Linked DNA regions of Homo sapiens: all the other regions are linked to region 6. Evidence: promoter capture Hi-C in 16 types of primary human blood cells and fetal thymus (Javierre and others, 2016). All regions are on one chromosome and are shown on one strand. The core of a region is centred on a gene start or on the middle of the fragment in contact, and the rest is flanking DNA. Distances in the headings are between cores, read along the strand shown. Region 1 overlaps AUTS2 (activator of transcription and developmental regulator AUTS2). Region 2 overlaps AUTS2 (activator of transcription and developmental regulator AUTS2). Region 3 overlaps AUTS2 (activator of transcription and developmental regulator AUTS2). Region 4 overlaps AUTS2 (activator of transcription and developmental regulator AUTS2). Region 5 overlaps AUTS2 (activator of transcription and developmental regulator AUTS2). Region 6 holds the start of AUTS2 (activator of transcription and developmental regulator AUTS2). Region 7 overlaps AUTS2 (activator of transcription and developmental regulator AUTS2).

Region 1 (2,700 bases), core at 97-2,596, 380 kb before region 6:
CTTAAACAATATACCAAGAAAGATTCTGAGTACAGTGCCCAAATTATACCCCTTCTAATTCTCTATGAAGGCTTTCACCTCTGCCAAGAGTAACACACCTGAGTTCTCCACCAATTAAGCAAATGGCCAGGCCGCTGTTTTATCACATGTAGGACCAATGCTTTGTCACTGGCATCTTGTTTGGGTCATTCAATGGAAAAAGTGGCCGTATAAACGCAAACGCACTCATGTAGTTTTCTTCATTTCACCCATGGGTGATGACTCCCACTAGCAGGCATGCCTTGCATTTGCCTTTATTTTTCTCTAAGACTCACACATACATAACATGCATACTCCAGAGGTCCAAGGAAAATACTCCACGTTTTTTTTCCCCCCTCAGGATAGCCTGGAGCAGGAGGGGTGAAGAAAAGAAAGAGAAACAGCACACAAAGCTTTCCTTGTTCTTTTAATCTTTCTTAGACAAATTCTACACCAGAGAAAGCCACAGCTGAGGATTTTACAGTGGTGTTAAACACTGCTTCAGTCCCCTGAGAGAGAAGGAATGCATTCCCTTTAGTATTCACTGTGCTGAGCTACTCAGCTTTCTGAAAGAGAATATAGCAGAGCAGTCAAGAAGAAAAGGCACAGACCATGATACTTGCACTCAGCAGCTTATAAACCCGTTTATTTCCTCTCTAGGAAAAAAAGCAAACAAAAATGTTTTCAGGACCATTTCTCAAAAGGTTCCTATTTGTTGACTGATTTAATACATTTAATTCAGACAGTATATTCCTAAAATTGCTTTCTGTGTTGGTGCCTACGAGTCCTTGTCCTTAAGAAACTCACACTGATATAAACAAGATTAATAAGACAGTAGGTAAAGTTCAGCAAAAACAGACAAAAACTCATGATTAGCTACCCTTGTGAAACTAAGAGAAGATAAGCACAAATGCAACCGTCACAAACAACTGGGAATAAATTACCAACTCGAAGTGTGTACATATCAAGTGGTAGAACGAGTATATGTATTTTGATGGGTCTGACTCATCTTCACTCTTTAGTGACCTACTAATGCTCTGATGTCTGTTAGCATATCTCAAGAGGAAATAATGTTTGTTAATATCTAAATTTCAGTCTTAAGATTTTTCTACAATTTATTTACAAATCTAATGTGGTGTGTATTTCAAGACATGTGATAATCAAAGACCAGAATGAACTCAAGACTCTTAAGCGCTGATAGTGTGTACTGAAAGCCCATAATGAACTCATCTGGATGGTTATAATGGGATATAAAAATTGTTGGCAAGAAACTGTCTTCACTCTAGAGATAACAGTGATCATATTGATTATATCTATGTATATTAGGTATTAACATTAGAAATTAATTAATTTGAAATATTGAATAAAAATTTAAATACAAAATAAAAAAATACAGTTACATATTCACTTATAAAATAAAAATGACATACATCCTACCTTCTCATGGGTGAATGTTAACTGATCTAAAATCAGGCAAACCACAAATCTTTTACAATAATGCTCTTTTAACTGACCCCAACTGACCAGCTAGATCAACTGATGATCTTCGTTTCCTTTGTAAAACTTACTGAACATTTCATAGCCAATGAATACTCATCTCTATAAGACACCCGTGTACCACAGTGGACCATACCCAAACCTGTTTCTGCTAATTTTATTTACCACATGTAAACCAGTGATAAGTACAAAATGAAGGTGAGATTTTGTTTCTAGAGAAATTAAGCTGGACAAGATAAACATTTAATAAATGTGGGCCTCTCAAAAAACAATTGTTGAATTAAATACAAACTGACTATAGAAAGACTGGGAAAGGGAAGTTAAAATGATTCTGCATTCCAATTATTCATGTATGTGTAAGTTGTTATACCATTTTTAATAAGCCTCATAGACAACTGTGGTCAATGAATTACAGATGTGATTTATGCAAGAAAGAACAATTGGAACACAAATCAATATACCATTCTAAAACGAGCCCTCACTGCACATTGTAAACTCCTGGGGATCTTTTTAAAAAAATTGACGCCAAGGCTTCATCCCAGATCAACTGAATCAGAATCTCCAGAGTTGATACTTGGACATCAATTTTTTTTTTAATTCCCAAGGTAGTTCCAATGTATAGCCAAAGATGCAAACCGCTGCTCTACATGAAAGGACTGGTGAGAGGATGAGGATGTGTAATCATATGACTTCTAATACATACAATGTAAGCGTACACTTTTTTTTTTTAACAGTTTCAAGCTTTAACTGTTTCCAGTTCATAAATGTAGTATGGAAAAGATAATGCCAACATAAGCAGTATTCTACCAAATAACAAGTATGTACATAACCAGATCTACCTTGGCCTAAGAAGTACAGTGAATGCAATTTGAATGCCTTTCTCCACACAACTATCCTACAAATGAGGTTCCAAAAATCAATTATATAACTCCAAGGAAGTTTCTCTGCACTCCCTCTGCAAAACTGAACTAGATGTCCAACTCTTTCTGTACTGTCTTGAGATCCTCCCACTTACTCTTTAAGTGCACACAAACAAATTCTAGAGAGAAAAATAAGTTTTAAAAGGTTGATGTAATTAGCTGGGCATGGTGGCAGGTGCCTGTAATCCCAGCTGCTCAGGAGGCTGAGGCTGGAGGATCACTGGAACCCAGTGGCATCACTGCATTCCAGCCTGGGCGACAGAGT
Region 2 (2,915 bases), core at 106-2,605, 360 kb before region 6:
AAATCCCAAAAGTGCAAATCAATATACCACACACAGAAGTTGATGAGCACCTAGAAAGCAGTAAGAGGGATTAAAAGTGGACAAGAACAACTTCTGATGAAAAGGAAGCTTTGGAGAAAATACAGAAGCTGATTAGGTCCACGGAAAGGGACACGACATTCCAGGTAGACATAAAACACCTAGAAAAGCAAAAGATAAGATAACGGAAATGGTGATCTTTCCTGTCAATATATATTTCACTGATTAACTCTGCATGTTCATCTCTCCAACAAATGTTTTTGGAAAACGACTGATTCTGAAGTTCGATATTGTGTCTTTTCATAAAAATGTGCATGTAAATACTTACTTCTATATAACAAATCATATACCTACTCCCTTTATACACAGAATTACACAGATAAATGGCAGCCAAGTTATTTTAACTGGTTGTGCAGCATGAATTCAGAATGATTTTAATTACAGTTTCTCTTTTAAAATGAGGTTTTGTTCTTTAATATTCATTGACTACTAGCTTGCTTCCCACACACAACACATTATTTACTCTACAGTGGTTTGGTGCATCAATTATGGTAATAGTTTGTGAATAACATTCACATTATGGAAAAATGAGCCTGGTTACTTAGCTCTCCCTCTGGAAAATTGTCACAAACATATGTATCATCTGTCTCTACTTAGAGCGCAGCAATTAGTAATTATAGCTGTATATACTTTTTTAAGGCAAAGAGGGAAAATAGACCTGAAATGTCATGTTTCCAAATGTTCTTAGGATGTTATCTAAAATTATTTTGTTTGAACTCTAGTTGAAAAGAGAAAATGCAGTCTGACAAAATGAAAAATCACTAAAAGCATGCTGGATACGCAGAAATAGACAAAGCATCCCACAAATGACATCACCTACTAAACAATTCCTTCTTCATCCAGACAGATTAAAAAAAAATAGGCCTAGAGCTGTGGCAGACCTGACTATAGCAGCCATACTGTGAAGCAAGACAGACTCGGACTCAGACCCTGGCCATATATTCTCTAGCTCAGTTAAACCATTATTTATGGAGTGCCTTCTATACACCAGGTGCAGTACAGAGTTCTATAGAAACAATTAGTAAGACAAAACAATTTTTCCAAAGGTTATTATGTACTAGGGAACTAGAAGCATAATCAATACAATTTAGTATGAAGTGTGCAGATTTTAAAAGAGGTTTAAGAGAGAGAAATAGTTCAGAAAGGTATTTCTGTTGGAAAAGAAAAAGGATAAGAGACGTAAAGCTTTTCCAAGAAACAGACTCCTGAGATGCAGTGACAGTATGATGTGGAAGGTCATGATCCGAGAAAGTGAAATCCTGGGCGAATCCTAGGTGATAACAAAGTCCGAGATCCAAAATGAGAATGGATACTTAGCAGGTGAAGGTGAGGGATACTGGAGAGGAGGTCAAAGACCTAGGAAGCTTGGTTTTTGATATACATAGATATTGAAATTGTCCAGATCACATATTACTTAGCTTCTCTGACTCCAAATTTGTAATTACTGCTCATTTGTAAAATGAGAAAAATAAAACTTCCCCAAGGATTTTTGAGAGAACTGAATGAGAGTATTCTGTAAGTAACTTGAATAGTTTCTGGCACCAGCAGGCTCCCAAAAGCTCTTTAAATATTAGCACTTTATTGTAACCAAGAAAATATTTAGAAAAAACACAACAGGAACAATACGAGAGTTTTGAAAAACAGGAAGGTAAAGAATAGCAGTTATATTAGGAAGGACAGGGTAGAGACCATGAAAAATCAACTGCCATAATAGGTGCTGTTCTTCCACACTGCCTTAAAAGACTGATCACTTGAGGGTCCAGAATTTCCAGAGGTAACGGGCAAAATTTGAGACAACTGATTACTAATAGGAGACCAGAAAGTATTTCCTTTTGCATAGGTGAAATGTGAGAATTTACAATCTAGTCCAGAATAGCTCTGGTGTACATATCACAGAAGCATCTAAAATTTGGTTCTCTCCAAATGTCATTCCTCAAGGAATACTCTGGCTTTCCCCTTTCCAATGCCAAAAAGAGGCAGGCAACCACAAAAACAATCCAGTCATACTGCCTACCTGCATTACCTGAGGACTTGTTAAAAATGTACATTCTCAGGCCTTCCTCAGGCCTACCGACTCAGACACCTTGGAGGTGGAGCCTAGCAGTCGGTTAAACCAGCCTTTTAGGTGATTTTGGTGCAGAAAAACGTCTGAGAATCACTAATCCAGTGCCATCTTGTAGTTGCAGAGTGACTATCTGAAACAGGCCCAGAGAGAAGGCCACACAGTGTCAGTCTCTGGACTCCTAGCCCTTTGTCTCCTCCTTACACTACATGGTTTGTGTAGAGACCTAAGAAGTAAATGTGCCCAGCTGTGTTGCTTTTAGCTCTGCCCCTGCTCTACTGCACCTCCACTTGGCCCTGATGGAAGTATTTTCTTGCAAGTAGGGAACATGAGATAGAAGCCAAACAGTCCATGGCTAAGTTATCATGCAGTGGCACCAGAAGCAAGTCCTGATTTATATTCTAGAGTAGAGGTTCACGCCTGTTTTCAGTAAAGGGCCAGAAAGTAAATACTTTAGGTTTTGCAGGCCATACAGTCTCTGTCATAATTATTCAACTATGCCATTATAGCTAAGAAGCAGCCACAGAAGATACATAAACCAAGGGGTACAGGTATGTTCCAATAAAACCCGATTTACAAAAAAAGATACCAGGTCGGGATTGGCCGGTGGGCTATAGTTTGCCAACTCCTGCTGTTGAAGATGGCTGGCACACAGCAGGTGTTCTATAAATACTCTGGTGAAGGAATGAATGAATGAATAAAAGAGTGAGGACTAGCTGTTGCTGCTCACTACATCCATGAATGCCTGTCCTTCGCCCTTTTATTTATTTATTTT
Region 3 (2,751 bases), core at 47-2,546, 280 kb before region 6:
TTAGTTTATCTGTAAGAGCTGTCCACAATGAGCTCAGCAGAGTTTTGAGTTACTAAGTACATAACTCATTCTGTCCATGTCTAAAGCATGCCTATACATCCTCACAGGTATCTACCTTAGAAACTGTGCCCACAGATGACACACTTTAAACAATTTCCTTCCATGCTCTCACAAAGAAGCATGTGTTATGACATTGGCTGTTGGTCCCATAAGGAAGTGGGCTGGAGGATGTCATCTGGATGTAGGGAAATCAACCATTCCCCATCCCAGAAGGATTTATTGATGTCACCACAGGCTCAGCAAATTATATTCATGAAAGTGAAATCCCCATCACAGCCTATGAAAACCACTCACTAAACAAACTGGCAAACGCGTATATATTTGTAATCGGTAGAGGAGTCAATACACATGGCGGCTGTTAAAACTGGCATCAGTACCACAGTGAGAGAGAACAGCTCTGCAGGACCTGAAATGATAAAGGCCAGGCCTGCTGTGTGAGGTTGGGAGGGTGTGTGCATGAGCAGATGGGTTAGTCGGGAAATCAGTTTGGGAGCAAAAATTGAGCCTGTGGTTTAAACTGGGCCTTGGATGGCAGCATGTTTGAGGGAGACTTTCCTTTTTCCCATGTCCAGTTTCTATCTTGTTGCCAGCACACTTCATCCCAAAGATGGCATCGGCCCTGCTCTGATGACCAGCAGATTCTGGTGATTTCAACATTAATCCAAAATGACAGCTGTTTTGTCAAGAGAGAGAAGAGCTGGGTTGGAAACAAGATGCTGACGCTGGTACTACCCTGCAGTTTTATCATTCCCTCATCAGCATACTGATTTACACAGAGCAATCAGTTTTCTTCTCAGCAGTTATCTAACCTTACAGCACCAATGAGTACTATGGATAGTCTCAAATATTTCTCAGTTCTTTGGGAATAAGAATATCTTCCTGCCTGCTAAAGAAAAAAAAAAAAAAAAGGAACTCTATGCTCCACCCCGAAGCTGAGGCTGCTTTGAAGTGCACAAAGCTGGCTCCTTAATCAGTTGCTTAGATTACTTCCCACCATAGAAGCTTCATTCCAGGAAAATAGACCACTTCACTGCTATCCCTACTCTTTATTGGTGGCGGTTACATCTGAGTCCGAGAACTGGCTTTCCCACCTTCTGGCTTTACGAACATGAACAAATGCCTTGGCCCTTATGAGCCTCCATTTCTTCTCCTGGAATACAGGAATAGAAAGTTTAATGAAATTTGTGGAAAGTGCTTGGGATACTTCCTGGTACAGGCAGTAAATAAATTACAAATAAATGTGAGGAATTCCTCTTCCTGACTGATACAATTAATGACTGGTAAGTCATTAAAAAGGGAAACTGTCATTCTAAAAGGTTACATTTGGCATTGGAGGAACAATGGTGGGATCTATTCTCCATATATCCTCAAGATTGTGTTTAATGAGTGTCATTGAATGTGCCAAGCAACATACTGGATATTTTATTTATAATACCTCATTTAATTACTACAATACCCTGTGAAGCTTCAGTTTTCTCATATATAAAATGGAGCGAATAATATCACCTAACTTATGAAGCAGCTATTAGGATTAAATTAGTTAATGTAATGCCTAGGATGTATTAGGAGTTCAGTCCAAATTAATTATTTTTATTACTATTAATTAATATTCCCAAGGTCACATAGCTATGAAAAGACAATACCAGGACTCAACACAGACCTGCGTGGCTCTAGCATTCATGTTCTCATTCATGTGAACAGAACTGAAAGCAGAAGCCTAGAATGTGGTCTGAGCATGACCCAGGACTTATAGTGTTGCCTTGGGGTTGCAGGTTAACATACTTCTCTATTCCATTTTTGTTTTTATTTTTAAGATGGCTGTATTACTTGGCCTATTTTTTCTTTTCACTTTTTAAAAAAATTATTTACTTATTTATTACATTGAGATGGGGTCTCATTATGTTGCCCAGGCTGGTCTCAAACTCCTGAGCAAGCAATCAATTCTTTCACCTCAGCCTCCCAAAGTGCTGGGATTACAGGCATGAGCCAGCACGCCCAGCCTATCACTTGGTCTTTTTTTTTTTTTTTTTTTTTTTTTTTGAGACAGAGTTTCGCTCTTGTTGCCCAGGCTGGAGTGCAGTGGCCTGATTTCAGCTCACTACAACTTCCGTCTCCCAGTTTCAAGCGATTCTCCTGCCTCAGCCTCCTGAGTAGCTGGGGTTACAGGCGTGCACCACCACTCCCAGCTAATTTTGTATTTTTAGTAGAGATGAGGTTTCACCATGTTGGCAGGCTGGTCTCAAATTCCTGACCTCATGTGATCCACCCACCTCGGCCTCCCAAAGTGTTGGGATTACAGGTGTGAGCCACCACGCCTGGTCCACTTGGTCTATTTAACCTGAGAAATAATGCGAAGAAAGTACAATTTGCTCCTTGAAATACTAGCACCATATAAAGTTCCAGCATTTCTTCCTAAATCTGCCTTCTGTAATTTATGAGACATGCAAATAAGAGAAAGTTCTGAGACAGGGCTGTGGGGGGAGGCATTTCCTATCACCATATGGAAAGATGGAAACTTTAGGAAAGTTTGGCATGGGAAGAGAGCAATACTTTGTACTCCTGATAGATCCAAAATTAAAAGGACCATCATGTTAACTGCTACCAGAGAGAGGCAAAAAGAAGTCCTGAAAAAGCATTTACCACTGATTCTATCATTAATCTCTTTTCAACTGCTTTAACTTGCTGGCTTTC
Region 4 (2,707 bases), core at 45-2,544, 340 kb before region 6:
ACAAATGTGTGTGCGTGTGTACATGCTTGCGTGCATGTGTATTCTCTCAGCAGGAATTATTCTCTAACTGGGCAAAGCCATCCATATTTGGATGACACAAGCCATCCATGTTCTCTTGCAGGATCCTTCTTTTGAGCAAATAAGCTCCACTGCAGATAATTTGTTCATGTTCCAGTCTGGTTACATTGTAACCTTCTTCTGACTGTTAACATAGGCATTGTTACTGGTTCCTCCCTCACCCTCATCTCCCACATCCAGAACTCCTATTATCTGCATCCTAATAAGCTCCTAAGCTTCTATCCATCCTTACCTCTACTACCTTGGTCCAGGCTGCCATCCTCCTTCACCTGGATTACAGCATCAGCTGCCTGACTGCACTCTTGTCCTCTACTGTCTCCCTCTATGACTTAGACACATCACTAGTGAGAAACACGTTAAAGCTTACATCTCATCATGTTATACCCATGGTTCTACCCCTTGAATGCTCCGTTTGTCCTTAGCCCTTTATATTTCCATGACCCACATCCTGGAAGTGGGACCTACGGAGGACTTCATGATTTGGCCCCTGTGGCATCACTCCATGACACACACTCTCTCACTTTCTCTACCCCTAATGGGCTTCTCTCTGTTGTTCCTCCAAATCACCTATTTTATTCTGTCCAGCCTGTGGCCACTACACATGTTGGAATAGTTTTGTCCATGAGCCCTCACCTAGAGAGCACCTACTCATCCTTCATGTTTCATCCCAAAAGACATTTTCTCAGGAAAGCCTTCCCAGCCTTCCTCTTCCCTAGGTTAATTCGCCCTGTTGCAGACTCCTACAGAACTCACCATACTTCAGAGGATTTGTCAACTCTCTGCCCTTCTCACCATGAGGGGTCCAGCCAGAAGTTAGGAACGCAGGCTCTGAGAACTGCCTGCCCAGGTTCAAATCCTGACTCTGCTATTTGTAAGTTGTGAAACCTTGTGGGAGTTAGTCTCTTTGTGCCTGGGTTGTGTTACCTATAAAATAGAAATGATAATAATAGCATCTACCTTATAAGTTTGTTCTAAGAATTAAAATGGATGAAAAGAGTTTAGAATAGAGCCTTGCATACAGTAAGCACTGAAAGAATGCTTCCTGGTGGTATGATTACTACTGTTGTTGTTATGATGAGTGGAATATCTGCCTTGTTCACCATTATACATGCAATGTCAAATACACAGATACTGTGTGATCCCAATTCCACTTCAGCATCTCACTCAGTATGGTTATAATGAAGCAAAGAGATATTTCTCTCTATGAAGCTGTAAAAAATGCCAATCATCAATTGACATTTACTAAGTTCCCATGCTCTGCTCTACATAGATAAGGAGGATGCACCCAGAGAAGACACAGTACCTTATGCCTAAGTAGGAACCACGATTATACAAGTTTCTCTTCTCTCTCCATTGAGTGAAAGGGTTAACAAGAGTGTAATTTTAAATTATATAAACCTCATCAAATATTCATCAACTCAGAGGTGTTCCTTAATCCTCCCTTAGCTTCAGCATAAAAGACTGTGGATCAAAGAGCTCACTTCACACAGATAGTGTTTCATGAAAGCAAAAGGTATCAAGTTTATCCCCTGGCAGGATGTAAGTGGGCTGAAGCTACCCCAGCTCCTGCAGCAAGACTGGGGAGACTCAGGCAAAAATGTGAGGTTGTGTGGGGCACAGAGAACCTAAGTAGAAAGAATTTCTGAACTTCTGATGTTACATTTTGGAAATAAGAATAGTTTAAGCCTAAAGAGAGTGTGACATTTAAGGGGGCTCCTTTAAAATATTTCTATAAGGCAAAGATTCCTATCCTTAGAAATGAATAGGAGAAAAAAATGATTGAATTTTACTTCTTGAATGGTGCACCAAATTCATTGTTCACATGTTGAGCCCTCTACAAATTAAGCCTAGAAAACTGGGAGGTGTCACCAGCATTTATAGGTAAGAAAGTTGATACACATGTTAAAGATAACATGATGTGATAGGGATACAAGAGTATTTAAGTTTCACTTGCTGTGCAAATATGGTCTAAGATATCATTATGAAATCTAAATCTTTACAAATTGATTTACTTAAATCAAATATATCTATAGCAGTTAAAAACATGATCAGCAGTTCCCATAAAGCTTGAGCTGCTCAGTCAGCAGGCCCTATCATTTTTCTCCAATACATCTTCCCAAGTCACCATTCCTTATCTTCACCATTGTAAGCACAGCTGGCTTATCGTAGCAGTCCCTTCCAATCACCTCACACATTTCTGTCTTACTCACCTACTCAACCACCTATAATTGATCTTGTTTCTTAGCCTACGTTCTTTTCTGCAGCTTCCAGGCTCTATGTACTTTGGTTCCACCTTGTCTATCTAAGACACTTAGCCACTTCTCCACCTACATACTCCATCCCCTCTCTGCTCATTGCACTTCCCTAGGTTAGGGTGTACTGCTTATCTCCCTGTAACACCGACCCTCTATGTACCAGAGGTTATCCAGTTATTTCTATAGTTTCATTCATGTTTAGTTTTGGGTTCAGGGCAAGGTCATGTCTTGAGATTTATTTATAATCTCACAATGGTGGATACAATCATGCATCAAATGTAAAACTCACCAAACCACATTCTTCTGTAGACATACAAAAGGATTATTGTATTTTAAAAATCATACTTTCCTCCTGCAACAGCAAAAACTAAAAT
Region 5 (2,700 bases), core at 187-2,686, 300 kb before region 6:
TCTAAACCCTGGCTCCTTCCCTCATTGACAAGGCCTCAGACAAGTCACTTTATCTCTTTGAGCCCTCGTTTCCATAGCTGTTAAGTAACCATGATATTACCTACTAGGCAGGGTTGTTGTACAAATTATAGGTTATACTATAAAAACTCCCTCACTGAATGTAGCATAGTATGCATTAGGTAAATGTTAATAATTACTATTATAACTCCAGTCTGGCGTTTCAGGACACAAGTGTACCTTTGGAAACACTGTGCTGGTTGTCAGATTTAGGCATTACCTTGGAAGCCTTCTGGGTCCATCTGAAACCCATCACCCCAGATGTTTTACCAGGATTATATGCTTCACTACGTATAAGGCAGAATTCTGACACCAAACTGCCCACTACATCATATTGAGGCTTTTGATCTTTCCAATCTTTTAACTAAAAACCATCACCCAAATACACTCTTGATTCTTTGTAAGAGTGACTTCCAACCAGGCTGACTGTTTTCAAATAGGAAACTTTCTAAAACTACAAATGTCATTAGGTCCTAAAGAGGGGCCAGAAATTTAGGTTTAGTAGCTCTCATTATATGATTCTCAAGATCTGTGTGGTTTGGGAACCATTGTTTTGTTTGATCCCAGATCTCCCTGCCTCTGCAGAGAAACATCTGCAAACCAAAAATTACCTATTCCACCTCTAATTAGCAGCACCTGCTCTGTACACCACAATTCCTTCCTCTGCTTTCTTCAGTGATAGTCAATCCTACCCAATGGTCCTGCCAAAAATAAATAAAACACACCCAGGACACAGGTAACTAACTTGACAGGCACTGAAGCCTCTGGATTTGTGCAGAAAAACTGCTATAAACAGCTTCATATCTCATTATTAATCCATCTCATGTGGGGATTTCCACAGGCAGAAAGGCTTCCCAAATGCCAAGAGCCATACTTTCTTGTGGATCATTGAAACCTAATTATTAACAGGCCAGTAAGCCTCATTATCAGACGTTCATACAATCAACAGATCACAAAGATAGTCTTGAATTATAGCCTATGGAGAACAACTAAGACACCAAAAGGCAAATTCATTTTTTGCCATTGCCCTCCCAGATGCCACAATATCTGAGCTTCCCCGGAAAATATAAATCTTAGCAAGGCATTTCTCACACACAGGCAATCATTTTAGCACCTTAGAACCATGAGATGCACAATGTATGTGATGAAATCCACCTGTTCCATTTATCCTAATTGCAAAGATCTCTCCCCTGCAAGCCAGTCCATCTTGACAACTGTTAAGACAGGTCTGCCCTAAATACCAGTACCACTTAGCATCAAGCTTTGTTGCATAAAGCACATCTGACTGAAAGGGCACCATGCTGAAGTTTCAAATCCTCATAGAAAGAGCTGAGATTGGGTTTTAGATTCTTTTAAAGGCACGCACACAGCTTTGTTGGACAACCACTTCAGCATCCCACCAAGGATATCTTCTCCACCTGTTACGAAAAACCACAGTGGAGGAAGCACCTAAGGAAGGGATTTTGCCGCCACAGGAAAGAGCGAACCCAAGCTTCCTCACCTGTCTGAGTGCCTTCGGCATTTTCTTTCTCTTCCCAAGGTGCTGGCAGAGATTGCGGTCATTTTCTCGATCTGAGCTGTAGTGGTGTGGGTGGCTGAGTCTGCTCTTCTTTGAATGAAAGGACAAGCCATTGGTAAGTGCTTCTCGTTTCTTCTTGGTCAGGGGCGTCTGGCGTTTCTCCACACGTTCCTGAGGCTTAAGTGCTACATCTTTCTGTAGAAAAGAAGAGAAGGAAAGGGAAGTGGTGGTTACAAAGGTATCTAGGGTCACACCCAAAATATAGGCTAAATACTAAAGGGTGTTACTACTAAGTGGGAGAGGGATAGGAAAGTGGGATATGAGAAGACCCAAAACTAAGAAACATGGCTTCTCAATTTTCCTGAATCCTTAATGCCATCACAAATATATATATCCTTTCTATTATTACTGGGCAGAAAACTAAACAAAACACAAGTATATGCATCAAAAGTGATTTCACTGCTCCCTGGGATAGCAGCTTTCTGTTCGATTTGGTGCTGGGTCCAGCACACAATGACCTTCCCCAAGGAAGTGCAATACACTCATTTCCCAAGTTGGTACATCAATTATGTTTCAGAAAATGAGCACTAAGTGCATGCTCAATTCAAAAGAAATAGCACCCAACTGAATTTATCAGGTCCAGGTGGATGTGAGCCAGCAAGAAAGAACTGTCTATTCATATGATTAAAATGTTTCCTTAATGCATTATATTTTTTTACATGTTCCTCTAAGCATCCTTTATTTCCATTTTCTTTGCAAAATGTAACAACAATATTATCACCAAGATCAACAGCAACTTTTAATTTATTCCTGTGTGTGGTTGGGGATGAGGGGAGGTGGGTAGGAAATGGGAAATCAATGTCCTTGAATGGGGAACTGCATCTGTAGAAACTACAGGTAAGCATTTCAGGCCACATGACCTGATAAGAGTTCTGTGCCTCCAGGCAGCTCAGTACACACCAAGGTTCCAACAGACTGGGCTTTTAGTGTCCGGACACTGACATTATTCATTATCAGAAGTGGAGTAAGTCACTACAACTCTGAGACCACGTGCAAAATGGGCTCTCAGAACATCAAACAAACCACATACATGCAAATATCCTCTGCCCTGTGAGAAATGATGC
Region 6 (2,895 bases), core at 320-2,819:
GGCGAGGGAGGCAGGAGAGCCGGGCGCAGCCGAGTGGGGTCGTGCATAAAGGGAACCCGGGGGAAGGGGGGTCCCCCTTACCTCCAGCGCTTCAAAAGTGACAAAGCTGGTCATGGCAAATCCATCAATGATGTCCTCTTCTGCCGAGGTGGACTCTCTCCGCTTCCTCCGCGGGGGTCTGGGCCGGGACGGGGCGGAGGACGGGGGCTTCCCATTGTCTTCCTTGTCGGAGCCCGACGACGAGGCGAGTGAGAGCGCCCGGGTCCGGCCAGCCCCGCCGCCGCCGGCCGCGCCGGCCCCCAGCCCGCCCCGGGAGCGCCTCTCCCGGTCTCGCTGCGACCGCGACCGCCGCTTTTTGCGGAGTCCATGGCCCCGCGTCGGGCCATCCATGGTTCTGCTGCGCCGGGGTCTCCCCGCTTGCCCGCCACAGGCTACGGCCGCAGCCACACAAAAAAAAATTGACACCGAGCCCTCCCTCCCCCTTCACGGCTTCCCTCCGCCCCGAGGAGGGCGCGGGGGAGACGGCGGCCGAAAGAAGGGAGAGAGGGGAAGAAAGAGAGGAGAAAGAAAAGGGGGAAGGGGCGGAGAGAGGGGAGGAGGGACGGGGAGCGAGGGCGAGAGGCGAGGAGCCCAAGTGTGGGGCTCCCCACAGCACCGAGGGTCGGAGATGCCTGGGAGCAGCGCCGAGCAAAGTAATGGCTGAACACACAGGTCTCCTTTAGAGGAAAAAAAAATAACTCACCAAGCAAGCAATAAATCAGAATAGCGGAATGCTTTGATCAAGAGACTGGGAGGCTCCGGGGAGCCCTCCCCGCGGCCATTCTCCGCCGCGCCCCCCGCCCCCCGAAAACGCCCGCGCCCCCCTCAACTCGATCCAAAATCGGGTCCGAAAAAGGTCGCGGGAAAAGTGGGGGCAATGAACTTCACCCGCCCCTCGCGCAGGAAAACACCCCCGCCGCCTCTCACACACGCCTCGGAGAAAACTCACTCCCAGGCTCCCAAATTTTTAAGAAATGCAGCCAGGGGAGGCCGGGGCTCCGGAGCGACCCAAGAGGGGCGAGACCCCCCAGAGAGGGGAGCATAATAATGCAATCATTAGCGGAAGAGAGGGCGAAACTGCGAGCGGCGGAGGAGAAGGGAGGCGGAGGAAGGGAAGGAGGATGCTGCTGGAGCAGTTGTGGGGTTTGCTTTTCGGTCTTCGAGGGGGGAGGAGAGGGAGATGAAAGAAGAGAAGAAGCAAACCCTGTCGCTGCCACCCGCCCCCCTCCTCACAAAAATATTTTTTCCAGTCCCAGAGAAGAGGTCACCCTTCCTCAAAAAAGGGAGGGGGTGAGTCAGTCAGTCGATGAGGAAAGCAGAAAGAAATCTCCAGCGGGAGAGACACCGGTGTGCCGCCGCCGCCGCCGCCGCTTCTCTCGCCGCCCCGCCTGAGGGAGAAGCGCAGCCGGGAACGCTGCTCTCGCCGCCGCCGCTAACGCTGCTGCTGCTGCCGCCGCCGCCGCCGAGAAAGCCCCGAGCCGGAGGGTGCACGGCGTGTCCCCGGGCGGCTGCAGCGGGAGCCCGGGCACTGCCCCATCCTCCGCCCGCCCGCCTGCCTCGCGCAGCTCCCGCTCCTCCCCCTCCGCGGCCAGCCCACCGCCGCCGCCGCCGCCGCCGCCCGCCTCAGCCCAACCCCGCGCCCGCCCGCTCGCTCGCTCGCTCGCTCGCTCGTTCGTGCTTTCGCTCGCTCGCTCGAGTGCGCGCGCTCCCGCGCACCCGCCCTCCCCGCGCCTCTCTCGGCGCGCGCTCCCGCCCCCGCGGCCCCGGCCGGCGGGATCACGTGGACGGCTGGGCTCCCTCCTCCCCCGCCCCCTCCCCAGTTGTAGAGTGTGTAGAAAGCAAAAGGCTGGGGGCTGGCCGCGCTCGCGAGCCCAGGGCATGCGCGCTGGGGCGGCCGGGCCTGCGCACTGGGGGCGGTGGGGAGCTGTGAGGGGGGCGGGGGCGGGGGCGTGGAGGGGGCGCCCGCGTGGGGTCGGCCGCGGCCGGGCAGAGTTGGCGCGCCAGGGCGTGGAAGCCGCCGGAGGATCCCGCCTGTCGCAGCGGGGACGCGTGTGGGCCCCTGCTCCCAGGCCACTTCGCGCGCGCGCCCCCCACATCCTCCTCGGGACACTTGTCCCTGGATCCTCTACCCCTGGCCGGCCCGAGGCCGCCTTCTCGGGAAGCCCCACCAGCCCCCAAGGGTGTTTTCCCTTGGCTACCTGCGCTGCGAGGAGAGAAGGGAATTCAGAGAAGGGGTACAAGGGGGGCGTCCCTGGGAGGGGGCGCGACTGGAGGAGACAGAACGGGGAGCGGGTGCCAAAGCGCGGGCCTTTGCTCCGCCTGGGCGCAGTGGGAGCACCAACTGGCAGAGTTGGAAACTTTTCCTCCACGTGGCACCACAGTGCGTGGACGAGCGACCCCGCGCCCGGATGACCCCTGGGATTCCCGCCTCGTCTTCCAGCGGGGGACCTAGGGACGCACGGGCGGCTTCAGATCCGGGAGCGCGAGGCCTAACAGCCGGGGGCCGAACTTGAACCTCGGAGGCGGCCGCGGGCGAGGGGCGGGGCCGAAGGGGCCGGGACCGCCGCCCCAGCTCGAGGACCCGTTAGACCGGCAAACCGCAGTCCCTGCCCCGCGGGCTTCCTTTACTTTTTGGGAGTGGGGGGCGGTTTCCCTGCTTTTTCCACCACAGCCCCTCCTCCCGCCGCAATGTGGCTGATGCTCATAAAAAGTTGTATTAAAGAGCTGACTGCAGCCGAGAATCGATCAACAAAAGCGACCAGCCTCTCTGGGTAAAATAGCTGTGCGTTTTTCAGGGCACTGGAATTGATCTATACGGATCAGAAAGACCGACAGCCCGCTCTCAGCAGCCTCTTG
Region 7 (3,043 bases), core at 275-2,774, 410 kb before region 6:
CTTTGAGTTTTAATAAGATGTAAATTTCAGGAGACAGGATTTATTTTTCCCAGCCCAAGTTAGTCCTCAAGGTTTAGACAGTCAGTAAATTGTTACCATCAGCTTTAGGAAAGGAAGCAAGCTTTCAGTAACAGAAAGACATTAACAATCAAATAGTATTCATCGCATCACAGGTAGGTACAGCTGCAAGCCTGCAGCACAAATAAGTTTCCAGCTGTGTCCCCACATTTTCACCCCTTGCTGCACCAAACTTTACAGAGAATTGAATTCTTCCAGCAAAGTGTGTTTTCATTGAAATGTGCTAGATCCTATAAAAGGTAACCATATGGAAATTTTCTCTATAAAATATTCTTTTCCTCCTCTTTCTCCATACCCCCAAAACACACATACATGCACACATATGCGGTCCTATTCATGAGCACTTATTTCTCTACAACCCAAACTCTAGAAAATCCTGTTACTACATTATCATTTATCTTTTTCACTGATAAGAGAAATAAATTATAAATACAACCCAGCTATCTGATCTGAAAAGCCATCATCACATACTGATCACATCATATAGTTTTCTTCAACTGAAGTGCCCGGGCAAGATGTTTTCTTAGTGTCAGCATAGTGTGCTTTGAAATATGAAGCTTCACCTGAGCCTTCTGACTGCAAAGACAAAGCCTCTTCTAACACCATTCAATGAATGAAATGAATTGAATATAATGAAAAGATCAAGGGAGAAATGGAAGAGGAAAAAATGGTAAGGAAAAAGAGATGAGGAAATAAGAAGCAGGAGATGAGGTGGAAAAGGAAAAGGCTGGAAGAAGTAAAGCAAGTGAGAGAATAACAAGAAGTGAAGACAAAAGAAACTAAAAAATTCCTGACTTTGGAACACTGAACACCATAAAGACCCATATTTTTACATGGTTTGTTTCACAAAATAGATGTCAAACTCATGTCTAGGTTTAACAATGAACTGACATATTTACCAAGGGGGCCTCTTACAGAGAGCTAAAAATATGAACCACAAAGGCAGACAAAAATTACCCTGGACGCCAGGGCCCAGGGGCAAGAGAGAACAATGTGGAGACCTGCCTCCTCCAGCCAATCCTGCTTGTCCACCCCTTTGAACTTATTCCTGTCCAAGGAGGTTAGCAAATGTGCCTACTCATTAACTATCTCTGCCTTCTCCACAGATCACAAATGCCCCAACTGGTAACTGTCAGAACCCAACACCATCAACGCTTTGCAGAAAGTAAGGGGTGAGTGAAGATGAAAATGGAGCAAGAAAGAGAACTTAGCATGATGACTGCACACCCTCAGTGAATGGCAGGCCTAAGGGGAGAAATTTAGGCCTGTCCCACCTCACAGTGAAAAAACTCAATGGTTCCTGAGACTCATACTCCCTCCTCTCCACTGTGTAGGAGGCTCCCAGGACACATGACAGTGAAAAGATTGAGGCAGTCAGAGGGAAACTTCGTCTAGCCCCAACACAGGCAGAGATGGTAGGAGCTCCACCTTCCACAGCAAGGGCTGAAAGGTCGCATGGCCACCCTGAAGCTCAGAATCCACAGATGATCAAGTGAAGGATGACAGAAGCAATCTGGATTATGCAAAGAATTGCTCTGAAATATGAAAGATGATTTTAAAAAAAGCTAAGAACTGCTTGTTCCGGCCACCAGTCCAAAAGACTCATGCTGCCCACCTTCCATTTATACATCCTCCAAGCAGTGAAGGTTTCCATGGGGCTCAGGACCCTCTTGGTAATTATTAAAGTAACTTAATTATACAATTGGTTAAGCCACCTATTCTGGGATAATTTGGCATGTAGTAATTCTGTCATCTATTCATGGGAAAACAGTTTCCAAGTTACAGCTAAGTAACTTACACACCATTTTTTTGTAACAAAAAGCCCTGATGAGCTAAATTGAGAAATAAGTAAATGAGGGTAGAAGTGGGAGAGTAGAAAAGGGAAAAATGAGGGAGAGGAGAGGAGAGGAGAGGAGAGGAGAGGAGAGGAGAGGAGAGGAGAGAGGAAAGGAGAGGAGAGGTGAGGCTAGTGAGAGTTTTGCCATCAAAAGATTTGTTTCCTAAAGCATGTCAGTGCTGGATGTCAATCCAGAGCTAGACAACTCGATTTTTTCATCAGCAAAAAAGACTGAGTGACCTTTTCCATCCTCAGTGGCTCCCCTCAGGCTTTATTTAGTCATGGTTGAAAATCAGGCCACAGGGAGAAATCTTGCCCTTTTCTTAATTTCAGATCAACACATAAGTAGCCTTAACTCCTATTTTAAAAGTGTATCTCCAATAAGTTACTAGTAATCTGGCCATCCTTTATGCCTGATGACCAAATCAAGTATGTGTCAAAAATTACTCAAGTAAGTCAAGCAAATCTCTTCCTTGGCTGCCCAACAATGAAGCTTTGACCCTGGGCACTGAGATCCCCTTACAAGCTTTTCCTTCCAATTTCTAATATCCAGAATCCACAGATGTCCAGGTGAAGTATGACAGAAGCAATCTGGTGAGCACTGTAGAATGGATAGATCCTGTTTGGTGATACTGGAGAATATCTAGTTTGGGTATAATTTCAGATCTTTAGATTGAAACAACCCAAAAACTTGTGTGATGCATAACAAACATATTATTATGATCCTACCTCATTCAGGATAGGCTACATAATGCTGTAGTATCAACTGCAAAATCTCCATGGCTAAAAATAACAAAGGCTTATTTCTTGTTCACACTCTTATGTCTCTATGGCTGTTGTGAGTCAGCAGGTGCTCGGCTCATCACAGTCACTCAGTCATCAAGGGGGATGGAGTGGCCACCATCTTGAACATTGCTAAACTTCATGTAGAGGAAAAGAGAATATGGTGAAGTATACACCTTTAAAAATGTCCTCAGCCAGGCGTAGTGCCTTATGCTGACAATCCCAGCACTTTGGGAGGCCGAAGCAGGAGGATTGCTTAAGACCAGGAGTTTGAGATCAACTTGGACAAAAGAGTGAGACCCCAGTCTCTACCAAAAATAGAAAGTTATCTGGATGTGGTGGCAC

Evidence for each region. Contacts are between HindIII fragments. The CHiCAGO score rates a contact against its expected background, and 5 or more counts as called.
Region 1: a contact is called between a fragment that was not itself captured here and the fragment with the promoter of AUTS2 in region 6, in 1 of 17 cell types (fetal thymus). The highest score is 6.1, in fetal thymus.
Region 2: a fragment that was not itself captured here is called in contact with the fragment with the promoter of AUTS2 in region 6 in 1 of 17 cell types (fetal thymus); the score reaches 7.9 in fetal thymus.
Region 3: a contact is called between a fragment that was not itself captured here and the fragment with the promoter of AUTS2 in region 6, in 1 of 17 cell types (fetal thymus). The highest score is 6.8, in fetal thymus.
Region 4: a contact is called between a fragment that was not itself captured here and the fragment with the promoter of AUTS2 in region 6, in 1 of 17 cell types (fetal thymus). The highest score is 5.9, in fetal thymus.
Region 5: a contact is called between a fragment that was not itself captured here and the fragment with the promoter of AUTS2 in region 6, in 1 of 17 cell types (fetal thymus). The highest score is 5.2, in fetal thymus.
Region 7: a contact is called between a fragment that was not itself captured here and the fragment with the promoter of AUTS2 in region 6, in 1 of 17 cell types (fetal thymus). The highest score is 9.0, in fetal thymus.

The regions. Positions count from the first base shown.
Region 1 is chr7:69,980,140-69,982,839 of GRCh38, reverse strand. All of the region lies in intron 2 of AUTS2 (activator of transcription and developmental regulator AUTS2), which reads right to left. Among named protein-coding and RNA genes, the nearest start is that of AUTS2, 380 kb to the right of the region's middle. The HindIII fragment of the contact is 1,825 bases long and covers 434-2,258 here.
Region 2 is chr7:69,958,000-69,960,914 of GRCh38, reverse strand. The region is part of intron 2 of AUTS2 (activator of transcription and developmental regulator AUTS2); the gene reads right to left. Among named protein-coding and RNA genes, the nearest start is that of AUTS2, 360 kb to the right of the region's middle. The HindIII fragment of the contact is 179 bases long and covers 1,266-1,444 here.
Region 3 is chr7:69,881,500-69,884,250 of GRCh38, reverse strand. The region is part of intron 1 of AUTS2 (activator of transcription and developmental regulator AUTS2); the gene reads right to left. Among named protein-coding and RNA genes, the nearest start is that of AUTS2, 280 kb to the right of the region's middle. The HindIII fragment of the contact is 463 bases long and covers 1,065-1,527 here.
Region 4 is chr7:69,938,395-69,941,101 of GRCh38, reverse strand. All of the region lies in intron 2 of AUTS2 (activator of transcription and developmental regulator AUTS2), which reads right to left. Among named protein-coding and RNA genes, the nearest start is that of AUTS2, 340 kb to the right of the region's middle. The HindIII fragment of the contact is 1,704 bases long and covers 443-2,146 here.
Region 5 is chr7:69,898,357-69,901,056 of GRCh38, reverse strand. It overlaps AUTS2 (activator of transcription and developmental regulator AUTS2), which reads right to left. Exons shown (of 19, transcript NM_015570.4): 2 at 1,559-1,771. Among named protein-coding and RNA genes, the nearest start is that of AUTS2, 300 kb to the right of the region's middle. The HindIII fragment of the contact is 231 bases long and covers 1,321-1,551 here.
Region 6 is chr7:69,597,149-69,600,043 of GRCh38, reverse strand. AUTS2 (activator of transcription and developmental regulator AUTS2) reads right to left here and starts at 1,569. Exons shown (of 19, transcript NM_015570.4): 1 at 82-1,569. The coding sequence starts at 390. CT66 (cancer/testis associated transcript 66) reads left to right here and starts at 2,420. Exons shown (of 3, transcript NR_148927.1): 1 at 2,420-2,895. RefSeq lists silencers at 256-325, 1,490-1,569, 1,590-2,009 and enhancers at 1,090-1,139, 2,320-2,399. The HindIII fragment of the contact is 6,527 bases long and covers 1-2,895 here.
Region 7 is chr7:70,010,293-70,013,335 of GRCh38, reverse strand. All of the region lies in intron 2 of AUTS2 (activator of transcription and developmental regulator AUTS2), which reads right to left. Among named protein-coding and RNA genes, the nearest start is that of AUTS2, 410 kb to the right of the region's middle. The HindIII fragment of the contact is 1,773 bases long and covers 638-2,410 here.